2 separate regions of the Homo sapiens genome follow, and region 1 is linked to region 2. Evidence: promoter capture Hi-C in human tissues and cell types (Jung and others, 2019). All regions are on one chromosome and are shown on one strand. The core of a region is centred on a gene start or on the middle of the fragment in contact, and the rest is flanking DNA. Distances in the headings are between cores, read along the strand shown.

The links. Contacts are between HindIII fragments. The study calls those that stand out against the background at their distance.
Region 1: a fragment that was not itself captured here is called in contact with the fragment with the promoter of ZC3HAV1L in region 2 in 1 of the 25 tissues and cell types used here (thymus).

Annotation. Positions count from the first base shown.
Region 1 is chr7:138,985,090-138,991,333 of GRCh38, forward strand. No RefSeq gene overlaps it. Among named protein-coding and RNA genes, the nearest start is that of KIAA1549, 6.8 kb to the left of the region's middle. The HindIII fragment of the contact is 6,153 bases long and covers 1-5,356 here.
Region 2 is chr7:139,031,466-139,037,347 of GRCh38, forward strand. It overlaps ZC3HAV1L (ZC3HAV1 like), which reads right to left and starts at 4,577. Exons shown (of 5, transcript NM_080660.4): 1 at 4,188-4,577; 2 at 3,078-3,213. The coding sequence starts at 4,552. It overlaps LOC107986852 (a long non-coding RNA gene), which reads left to right and starts at 4,718. Exons shown (of 2, transcript XR_007060557.1): 1 at 4,718-4,906; 2 at 5,188-5,485. RefSeq lists silencers at 3,890-4,409, 4,660-4,869 and an enhancer at 3,984-4,903. The HindIII fragment of the contact is 9,430 bases long and covers 1-5,882 here.

The DNA.
Region 1 (6,244 bases), core at 1,030-3,529, 49 kb before region 2:
GTGAACAAAACAAAGGCCCTTCCTCGTGGAACTTATGTTCTAGTGAGAGGAGACAGGCAATCAGTAAGTGAGCCTTCGGCTGATGACAACAATTTGCAGAATAACAAAGAGGGAAAAGGAGTGAGGGAAGGGTCAGTGTTACTGTGTTAAATAGAATAGTCAGGGATGATCACCCTACTAAGGTGACATTGGGCCATGGGGATAGCTGGGGAAGAGGGTGTCAGGCAGAGGGAACAACTGTGCAAAGTGGAGAAGTAGCCAGAATAAACATTCAAAAAATATTTACTGAGTCCCTACTAAGTAAGCGCCCCGTAGAGTCATGTGCTAAATGATCAGTAAGATTAATTAGGCCGGGCACAGTGGCTCACGTCTGTAATTCTAGCACTTTGGGAGGCTGAGGCAGGTGGATTGCTTGAGCCCAGGAGTTTGAGACCAGCCTGGGCGACATGGTGAGACTCCCATCTCTATGAAGAAATCCAAAACATTAGCTAGGCATGGTGGCGTGCACCTGTAGTCCCAGCCACCCGAGAGGCTGAGGTGGGAGGATCACCTGAGCCTGAGGAGGTCAAGGCTGCAGTGAGCCGTGATCATGCCAGTGCACTTCAGCCTGGGCAACAGAGCTAGACCCTGCCTCAAAAAAAAAAAAAATAATAATTGTCTACAGTTTTTTCAAGGAGCTTACAGTCTTACGGGAAAAAAAAAAACAAATTTTAAAAACCTACATATTGCAAAGTAGAACATGACAGATGTCCGAAGGAAGTTATAAAAAAAAGTTCAAAGAAGTAGAAATCATATTTGGCACAAGAGATCAAGCAAAGCTTCAGTGTAGTGTTGCATGGAAGCTGGGTGTTAGGGGGCGCCTAAAAAATGAAGAGGACTTGGACAGCTAAAGAGAACAGGACAGGTGTTCCAGGTGGAGGGAACCAACAGTACAAAAATATAAAGGCAGGAATGCATGAAATTTATCTAGCTGATGGCCAGATCAGCTAGAGCAGTGGTTCACAATGCTGACTGCAAATTAAAATCACCTGGACACCACAAACAAAACAAAACAGAACACCCCCAGGCCACACTTCAGACCAGTAAAATCCAAATCTCTGCAGACCAGGCTTGGACAGCCCTGTCTTTTAAAAGCTTCCCAGGATTCCAGTGTGTAAGAACCATTGAGCTAGATGTCTAAGAGTGAGACTTTATAATCACTTACTGAAAGTGGTAAGACATACCAGACCTAGAGAGGCGCAGCAGAGAAGAGAGAAAAGGGAAGCTGATATAGAACAAGGAGAGCTTAAAGATCTGGCTGAAGGGTTTGGACTTAATTTTGTAGGTGACGGTGGATCATTAAAGATTTGTTCAGATATTATTAGAACTAAGCACAAGAAGGATTACTCTATTAACATTATATAAGATGATTTGGAAAGAGAAAAGACTAAAGAGGAGACCAATTAAAACAAGATTTTTTTTTTTTTTTTTTTTTTGAGATGGAGTCTAGCTCTGTCACCAGGCTGGAATGCAGTGACGCAATCTATGCTCACTGCAACCTCTACCTCCCCGGTTCAAGCGATTCTCCTGCCTCAGCCTCCCGAGTAGCTGGGACGGCAGGCGCACATCACCACGCCCAGCTAATTTTTTTGTATTTTTAGTAGAGGCGGGTTTTCACCATGTTGGCCAGGCTGGTCTTCATCTCTTGACCTCGAGATCCGCCTGCCTCGGCCTCCTAAAGTGCTGGGATTACAGGCGTGAGCCACTGCACCTAGCCAGAACAAGATCTTAATGCTGCTGCATGAATATCAAGGATCAAAATATTTTTCACCATCAAACAGACAAAACTTTTAAAATTTTGATTATATTCATTTGTATATTCAAGTGTATAGCAAAATAGGCACTCTCGAATTCTACTGGTGTAGCCATTTTGGAGGATAATTTGACCTTATCTATCAAAATATAAAATCAGCTCACTTCCTTTTCCTTTTTTTTTTTTCAAGTCAAGTTTAATTCAGCTGGCAAATTTAGTCAGGTAATTTAATCAGATAAAATTCACCTTTTTTGGCCAGGCGTGGTGGCTCATGCCTGTAATCCTAGCACTTTGGGAGGCCAGGATGGGTGGATCACGAGGTCAGGAGTTTGAGACCAGCCTGACCAACCTGGCAAAACCCCGTCTCTACTAAAAATACAAAAATTAGCCAGGTGTGGTGGTGCGTGCCTGTAATCCCAACTAGTCGGGAGGCTGAGGCAGGAAAATAGCTTGAACCCGGAAGGCGAAGGTTGCAGTGAGCAGAGATCACATCATTGCACTCCAGCCTGGTGACAGAGCGAGACTCTGTCTCAAAAAATAAATAAATAAATAAATAAAAGTTCGCCTTTTTTTTTTCAGGTTTTAAAAATAATCTTTATTTTTTAAAAGTTAATATGTACAATTCAGGAAACTGAAAAACACAAGAAGCAAAGAACAAAGCTATCCACAATCATAAGCAGTTTGATGAAAATTCACCTTTTAAAAATGTTCAGTGAGTTTCAACAATTCTATGAAATCCTATAACCACCACCACATTCAAGGTAAAGAACATTTACATTGCCCTTAAAGTTCCCTTGTGCCAGCTTGCAGTCTATCCCATACCCTCCCTCTGACAGCCACTGATCTGATTTCTGTTTCTACAGCTTTGCCTTTTCCAGCATTTGACATAAATGGAATTATATAGTATGTAGCACTTTGTGTCTGGTTTCTTTTACTTAGCATAATGTCTGAGATTCATCCAAGTTGTTGCATGCGTCAGTAACTTGTTCCTTTCTATTGCTTAGTAGTATTCCATTGAATGGATATACCACAATTTGTCCAGTCACCAACTGATGAACATTTGGATTGTTTCCAGGTTTTTGGTCATTATTAATAATGCTGCTAAAAACATTTGTTTTCAGGTATTTTGTGTGAACATATGTTTTCATTTCTCTTGGGTAAATACCTAGGAGTAGATCTGCTAAGTCATGTGATAAATGTAAATTTAACTGGGTGGCGTGATAAATGTAAATTTAAACTGCCCAACTGTCTTCCCAGGTGGGATATATTTTAGATCCCCACCAGCAATGTATGAAAGGTCTAGTTGTTCCATACCCTTGTTAGCACTTGATTTTGTTAGCCTTTTTAATTTGAACCATTCTAGCAAGTGTCTAATGATATCTCATTGTGCACTTAATCTGCCTTGTCCTCATGACTAATGATATTGAACACTCTCCATGTGTTTATTTGCAATCAATATGTCTTCTTTGGTGGCATGTCTGTTCAAATCTTACCAAATTGTATATTTATGTATTCTAAATACAAATCTTTTATCCGATGTGTGTTTTGCAAATGTTTTCTCCTAGTCCATAACTTGTCTTTTCATTCTCTTAAGATATTCAAAGAGAAGAGGTTTTTAACTTTGGTGAAATACACTTTTTTATTATTTTTTTCTTTTTTGTTTCATGTTTTTTGTGTCCTAAAAAATATTTGCCTAGCTCGAGGTCACAAATATTTTCTCTCATGTTTCTATCCAGAAACTTAATGTTTTAGCTCTTATGTTTCAGTCTATGATCCATTTGAGTCAACTTTGATGTATTTTGTGAGATTAAAGGGTTGAAGTTAATTTTGTGGGTGTGATGTCTAGTTGTTATAGCACCATTTGTTGCAGACTATCCTTTTGCCATTTAATTGACTTTATATTTTCTCAAAATTAATTGACTAGGTATGTGTGGATTTATTTCTAGACTTTGTATTCTCTTCCATGGAAGACTCACATATTACATGGGCATGGGGGAGTAAGATACTGTATAGTATAATCCCACTAATGAAAAAAAAGTGGGATTGTGATTGTAAACCCACTTTTTAAAAAAGTATGAGTGTAAACAGTCGTTACTACTGGGAAAGGAAATCAAGTTTAGAGAGGAGTTGGGAAGTGAATGTATGAAGGGGAAAATTCACTTTTTGCTCCATATAATCATACACCTGATTACAATAATCTTACCTGTGATTAATACACATCATATCATCTGAACTTTTTTCTTTATTTTTCATTTATTTAACTCCACTCCTGTGACAGATTAGATAGCATTTGAATTTTTGACACCAGCATATACTGCTTTTGTATTTCAAAATTTTTCTAAATAAAAACTTTGTGGGTTTGAATGGAAATTAGAAAATGGATGAGACACATTCTGGATGCTAAATGAGTCGGTGAGATATGAGGAGAGGAAAGAATGAAAGATGATTCAGAGATTTTGGACCATCTGTGGAAGGATAGGAAAAAAAGGAATTCAGCTGGAAAGCCTGGGTGAGAAGCAAAGATGGAGGGTTGGGTTCTGAGTGTGTTGGCTGTGAGGTGCTGGACCCATACCAGGGAGCTGTGCTGACGCCAGCGATGGCGAAGGTGAGCTGAGGGCTTGGAAGATGTGACTCCAGATATGGAATCATTCATACGGCGTCATTAGCTAAAGATGAGAGAGTAAATGACTGCCTAGAAAGGGAGGGGAGAAGGCAAGAAAAGAGGGCCAAGGAGAGCCCTGGAGAAAGACCTTCGTTTTGGAAAGGCTGAAGAGGAGTCCGTGAAAAAGGCAGAGAAAGATCTAGAAAGAAAGCGGAGAAGCACAATGGAAATGTGGTGTCACCAACAGCCTGGGAAACAAGTTTTAAAATAGAGAGGACAGTCAATGTCAAAGACAACAGGACTGAGAAGACCTCTTTGGACTTGCAGATGCAGTTGTTAAAAAGAGACTTTCCTTCTGTGCCTGGCTCATTTTGTCCTCCGGGTTCATCCATGCAGTCTCAAATAACAAGATTTCCTTCTTTTTTAAGGCTGAATAGTATTCCATTGTGTCTGTATACACCACATTCTCTTTATCCATTCATCCCACAATGGACATATAAGTTGATTCCATATCTTGGCTTTTGTGAATAAGCTGCAGTGAACATGGAGGTGCAGATACCTCTTCAACTGATTTCATTTCCTCTGAATGTATACCCAATAGTGGGATTGCTGGACCATAGGATAGTTTTACTTTGAATTTTTTGAGGACCCTTCATACTGTGTCGAAGTGAGGGGGTGGCAGGGGAGGAGAGGCAAACAAAAAGGGGTAAAAGAATGAGTGGGTTAGGAAGTAGTGGAGGCCACAGAAGATGGCGGGTAACAGGGTTGAGATATTTTTTAGGATAGGTAAGACTGAACATCCTTGTAGATTTAAGAGGTGTCCAAAGACAACGAGAGAATAAGATCCAAGAGAGGGATCATCGATAGAGCAAATTCTCAGAGCTAAGAGCAGATGGAATCAACAGCAACAGGTCATTCTTTTGAAATGGCAGCTTCAGCCAGGCGCTGTGGCTCACACCTGAAATCCCAGCACTTTGGGAGGCCGAGGCGGGCGGATCATGAGGTCAGGAGATCGAGACCATCCTGGCCAACATGGTGAAACCCCATCTCTACTGAAAATACAAAAATTAGCCTGGTGTGGTGGCACAAGCCTGGAGTCCCAGCTATACTCGGTAGGCTGAGACAGGAGAATTGCTTGAACCCGGGAGGCGGAGGTTGCAGTGAGCTGAAACTGCACCACTGCACTCCAGCCTGATGACAGAGCGAGACTCCATCTTAAAAAAAAAGATATGGCAGCTTCAGCAGCCCAATGTCCAGTGTCAGGAGAGTGGCTTAATGGCTTGATAAAATCACCATACAGTAACACATGGAAATGTTATACTTCTGTGAAAAAACATAGGAAGTGTTTGGGTTATAATGTTAAGTGGAGGAAAAAATATATATAAAATGGTTTATGAGCTGATATAAAACAATGTGTATGACTGAGAAAGAACTGCGCATACTTAAAATTGTTGTATTGAGGTAATGGGATTATGGGCATTCATCCTCTCCTTTGATGATGATGTTGTATTTGTCTTTTCAATAGAAAATGTTTACAAGAACGAACAATCTTCTTCCAAAAGAAGAGAGAAAGGACAGATTAATCAAGGTAAAGGCCTTAAGTAGTCTCTAAAGTGATTTCTTCCCCGGCCGGGCTTGGTGGCTCATGCCTGTAATCCCAGCACTTTGGGAGGCCGAGGCAGGTGGATCACCTGAGGTCAGGAGTTCAAGACCAGCCTGACCAACATGAAGAAACCCCGTCTTTACTAAAAATACAACATTAGCCAGGTGTGGTGGTGCATGCCTGTAATCCCAGCTACTCAGGAGGCTGAGGCGGGAGAAATGCTTGAACCTGGGAGACGGAGGTTGCA
Region 2 (5,882 bases), core at 3,327-5,826:
GTCCCAGCTACTAGGGAGGCTGAGGCACGAGAATTGCTTGAACCTGGGAGGCAGAGGTGGCAATGAGCTAAGATCACGCCACTGCACTCCAGTCTGGGCGACAGAGCAAGACTCTGTCTACAAAACAAACAAACAAAAACAAAAAAAAGTATCTGGGGGCCAGGCGCTATGGCTCACGCCTGTTATCCCAGCACTTTGGGAGGCCAAGGTGGGCGGATCACTTGAGGTCAAGAGTTCAAGGCCAGCCTGGCCAAAATGACAAACCCCATCTCTACTCAAAATACAAAAAACTAGCTGGGTATGGTGGCAAGCGCCTGCAATCCCAGCTACTTGGGAGGCTGAGGCAGGAGAATCGCTTGAACCAGGGAGGTGGAGATTGCAGTGAGCTGAGATCACACCACTGCACTCCAGCCTGGGCGATAGAGCAAGATTCCATCTCAAAAAAACAAAACAAAAAAAAGTAGCTGGGTGCGGTGGTGTACACCTGCAGTCCCAGCTACTCGAGAGGCTGAAGTGCGAGGATTGCTTGAGCCCAGGAGATCGAGGTTGCAGTGAGCTATGACCAGCCTGGGCAACATGGCAAAACCCTGTCTCTGCACTCCAGCCTGGGTGACACAGCGAGACCATGTCTCTAAAAGAGTAAATAAACTTTAAAAATGAAAGATAAACTACTTTAATTAGTATGATAGTGGTTCAAGAATTGGAGATCATGGAAAATAGATCCTACACCTACTCCAAATATAAGGAACAGCCTGTTCCTTATAGATTTGTTAAAATTAAGGAGAATAGGGATATGTAGGTCGAAGGGAACAAAGTTTCAATTAAACAGGATGAATTTCTGGAAATCCACTGTACGGCAAGGTGACTGTAGTTAATAATAACATAATGGCCAGGCACAGTGGCTCACACCTATAATCCCAGCACTCTGGGAGGCTGAGGTGGGCGGATCACGAGGTCAGGAGATCGAGACCATCCTGGCTAACAAGGTGAAACCCCATCTCTACTAAACAAAATACAAAAAATTAGCTGGGCATCATGGTGGGCGCCTGTCGGGAGGCTGAGGCAGAAGAATGGCATGAACCCGGGAGCAGAGCTTGCAGTGAGCCGAGACCTCACCACTGCACTCCAGCCTGGGTGATAGAGTGAGACTCCATCTCAAAAAAAAAGAAATAAATAAAATAAAATAAAAATAAAAATAAAATAAAATAAATAAAAAATAAAATAAAATTTAAAAAAATAACATACTGTATACCTGAAAATTGCTGTCCTTACCACACCCAAAAAATAATAGCCATGTAAAGTAATGGTATGCTAATTAGCTTAATCATTGCAATCAATTCACAATGTAAATATATTAAAACACCACATTGTACACTGTAAATATAAAATTTTTATTTGTCAACTACACTTCAATAAAGACAAAAATTTGATAGAATTCAACTATGAAACTATATAAGCCTGGCCAGGCGCAGTGGCTCACGCCTGTAATCCCAGCACTTTAGGAGGCTGAGGCAGAGGGATCACTTGAGGTCAGGCATATAAGACCAGCCCGGCCAACATGGTGAAACGCTATCTCTACCAAAAAGTACAAAAATTAGCTGGGCATGGTGGCACGTGCCTGTAGTCCCAACTATTCAGGAGACTGAGGTGGGAGAATCACTTGAACTCAGGAGGCAGAGGCTACAGTGAGCCGAGGTACTTCCAGCCTGTGTGAGAGAGTAAGACCCTGTCTCAAAAAAAAAAAAACTATATAAGTCTGATGTTTTCTTGTGCAAGCCTTCTAACTAATGCTTTGAGGTTTGTTTAATGCTTTTATTTTAAAAATTTTTATGACACTATTTTGGCTTTCCGTTTCTTCTTGAATCCATTTTGACAAGCTGTATTTTTCTAGAAATTTGTCCATCAATGCACCAGCATGAAACTTTACCTGTCTATTGTCTTTTTTATTGAGAGAGTGGTAAAAGCAATCATCAGGCATTTCATACAAGAGATGTGAGGCACCATTCTTGCCTCATGCACTGTGTTTTTCCACAGTCCCTGCTGCCCACATGATCACGTTTTGTGCCACATGTCACCTACTTCCAGTCCCAGGTGATGGGGACAAGTGGAGGCACAGGGGAGGCTCCTGTTGTAAGTGCAGCCAACCCATCAGCTGCTCACAAAACACTGAAGTAGTCTAATATGACAAGGTGAGGCTGGGCCCAAGATACATCCTAAAAAAGGGCATACCAAAAAAACATTCGATAGATTTGACAAAATAAAAACACTAAACTTCTATAAATCAAAAAGTACTATAAAATTAAAAGGCAAATAGCAGCGGCACCACGCCTTCTCTCTGAGACAGGAAGGACTGGACCCAGCCTCATAGGTGCAGCCACCCTCCTCTCCCTTCCTGCCAATAACCTGCTTCAGCTACTGCTTGCATCTACTTTGGGCAACATGGTTGGTTGGAATGCCTCTGGCTCACAACCGTGACATACCAGACTTGGCTTCAGTGCTCGAAGAAATGAAACAGGTTATGCATGTCAGGAAGAAACCTGCTTGTTCCTGAGATCAACTCCAGGACTGCCTTCTGGGTACAGATTCTGCTGCCTTGAGAGCAGCCTCTGCCACCTGCACCAAAGGCTCCAGCTCCTACCTCTAGTCTTGTGGCTATCTTCCTTTCTAGACGCTGAAATGCATTAGAGTTAAAATCAGGCCACAATTATGAACTATCCTCTGTTTTCTCAACATCTCCCCTTCTTCCCATCCCTCTTCTGGCCAAGTGGAGGTGTCTATGATAGCATCACTGTGCTAGATTAGAAAATCTTGCTTTTAATTGGTGGTCTTAATTGATGTTCCAATTTTCTCTTGGGATTTGTACTATTTTGTTTTTAAAACTTCTTTGTGTATGGCTAAACTGAAACAAACGTACTATTTCGCCATGATAGCAATTATAAAGGGTACCTTTAAAGCATTTGAAACTGAATCATGTTGCTTCGAAGGCAATTAAAATTAATATGTAAAGCCAAAAGAAAAATAAATGGGGAAAGTACTTGTAGCAAATGTGACATGAGGGTGACTCCTTGGTGACTCACCTCTGGTAAAAGACAGGGGTCATTCTGCAAAAGCAGGATCCGAAGCTGGTTTTCATTGAGACCAAAAAGTCCATGGCTTTTCAGGACCTGCATGTTGACAGGTGTGTGGATATCATGGGAAAGGGTACAGGTAGACCTAAAAGAACAAAGCCCTCGGTCAGATGCCCAGGTGAAGAAGGACCAGTCTGTCCAATTCCTTGCCTTGAGCAGCTTTCAATGTATTTAATACATGTGAAGTTGAGTAATTTTCATGAAACCGGGGATAGTATGGCCTAATAAGCACTGATGGAAAATAAGAAAATTGGGTTGAAGGAACTCCTCTCCCAGGGTCATTTGAATTTTCAGTAGGGATGCTTTGAAGCCAAGGGTCGCCCACCTCGCCTGAGGATGCACATCTGTTCCGTAGGCGACTGCACCTGGCCTTCTCCCCGGCAACAGCTGCCACAGTCCACCAACGTTAAAAAGAAAGCGCCCCTATCCCCAGCACCGCTTTGGCGGGGTGTGTGGCTAGAGACAACCAAGGAAAATTCGGGGCTGTGAAGCACAGCCTGGGGTCAGGAGGCAGCCCCGAACCCCAGCTCTGGCAGTCAGGAACCACAGGGCCTCACCCAAGCCATCCAGCCCTGTTTCCTGGGGTGAGACTGGCTCAGCGCTGTTAAACCTAGAGGGCGCAGACCCGCTTCTGCACAAGTGTGTGGATATGGGGGAGCAGCGATTTCCGGCTAAAGGGTCCAGGGATCTCATGGGATCCTCAGACGCCCCACGCCCCCCACCTCCCGCCAAATATCACCAGAATAAGTGAGCTCCGAAGTCCCAGTCCGGATTTAACCCGGCCGCGTCGCGCAGGATCCGGGGGGGCGGGCGGGGGCAGCAACTTTTCTGGCGTGGGCGGTTGAGACGTCTCCATGGAGAGGACCTTCGCGCCTTTCCGCCCAGCTGCTGGAAGCGCGGGGGAGGACGCCCAGGAAAGGCCTGCGGGAGGGGGTCGTCCAGCCCCGCGTCCCCGGCCCGGGGCAGGACGAAGCCCCCCTTCCCGTCGCTCCCGCTTCCAGCAGGACGGCCAGGCCCGCGGCCAGCGCCCACAGTCCCCGCCCGCCGCCGCCTTCTCACCAGCAGTCCCGGTTGGGGCACTTGCCCAGCATGTGCCGGCGGCAGAAGTGCAGCTGGTCGCAGGCCTGGCACTCGCCGCGCTGGTAGCGGGCGCAGAGGCGCACAGAGGACACGGCCACCACCCTCCAGGCGGAGGTGCCGCCACCGCCCACCGCGCCGGCCGCCGCCTCGGCCTCCGCGTCCCCGAGGCCCTCCTGCGTCTCCACCTCCTGCAGCAGGAAACGCTCGGGCCCGGCGCGCTGCAGCACGTCCCGGAGCCTGGCCTCCGACAGCTCCACGTGGCCGCGCAGGTCCTTCAGGAACATGCGGCCGCCGTGGGCGCACAGCACCTTGGTGAGGAAGGAGCACACTGTGGGCTCCGCCATGGTCGCTGGCGCGGGCCCTGTGCGCGCGGCGCAGCGAGCCGGGGCGGGCAGGCTCCTCCCAGTCACGTCCACGATTTCCAGCGAACAGCCCGGGGATGGGCCTGGGCCTGGCGAGGGGTGGGCCTGCGGGAGGCCGGGCGAGGGGCGGCCCCGGCGCGTGGAAGCAGGGTACGGCGCCTGCGGATCCCCTGGACGTGGACTCAGGCGGGGACAGCGTTGATGGAGCGTCTGCTCCGCCCAGGCACCGTTCAGGGCGAAGCCTGGCCTTGAGGGGCTTGTATAGTGGGAGTCACAAAGGACTCGCCAACAAGACAACTGGTAGTGCTAGGGAGGCCTGCGGAGAAGGAGAAATAGGTAAAAGGTGGTAGGAGGTGAGTGGCCGGGCTGCTTCGCGGGAGGTGGCCACTAGCCACATGTGGCTGCTGAGCACTTCTGGGATTTTTTGTTGTTGTTGTATTTTTATTTTTGGAGACAAGGCCTCACGTTATCGCCCAGGCTGGAGTGCAGTGGCGCTATCGTAGTTCGCTGCAGCCTGGAACTCCTGGGCTCAAGCGATCCTCCCACCTCAGCCTCCTGAGTAGCTGAGACCGAAGGTTCGCATCACTAATTTTTTTGGTTTTTGTTTTGCTTTGTAGAAACGGGGTCTCCTCATGTTGCCCAGGCTGGTCTCGAACTCCTCAAGCGATCCACCTGCCTCAGCCTCCCAGAGCACTGGAATTACAGGCGTGAGCCACCCCGCGGGGCCTGCTGAGCTTTATTGGAAAGTGGCTAGTCCGAATTGAGATGTGATATAAGTGTGAAATACACACACTAGATTTTGAGGACTGAGAATGAGAAAAAGAATGTAAAATATCTCACTAACTTTATATGAATCACATGTTAAACATAATATTTTGGATATATTTGGATAAATAAAATGTTATGACAACTTCATGTGTTGCTTCTACTTTCCTAATGTAGCTATGAGGAAATTTTACATTGCAAATGTGGATTACCTTATTTTTGTTGAGCAGCACCAGTCTAGACCTGCCTTAAGCATCCATGCTTTTTGTCCAACACCTTGCTTGTTTCATGAACGTTTGTTGAGCCAACTACTAACGCAGTGACAGTACAAAGATGAATCAGACCATCAGAGAACTCAGCCAGCCTAGCTGCTATTTTGCAAGGTGCTCGTGAGGATTAAATGCATTAATGTCATGTAATGTAAAGAAGCTAGAGAGGAAGACAACTGGCCAGATGCCAGAAGACCTTCTCTGCCATGCTGTGAAATTTGGACTTATATCCCGAGAACTTTGGGAAGTCACTAAAGGATTTTCATCTGGGAAGTGTG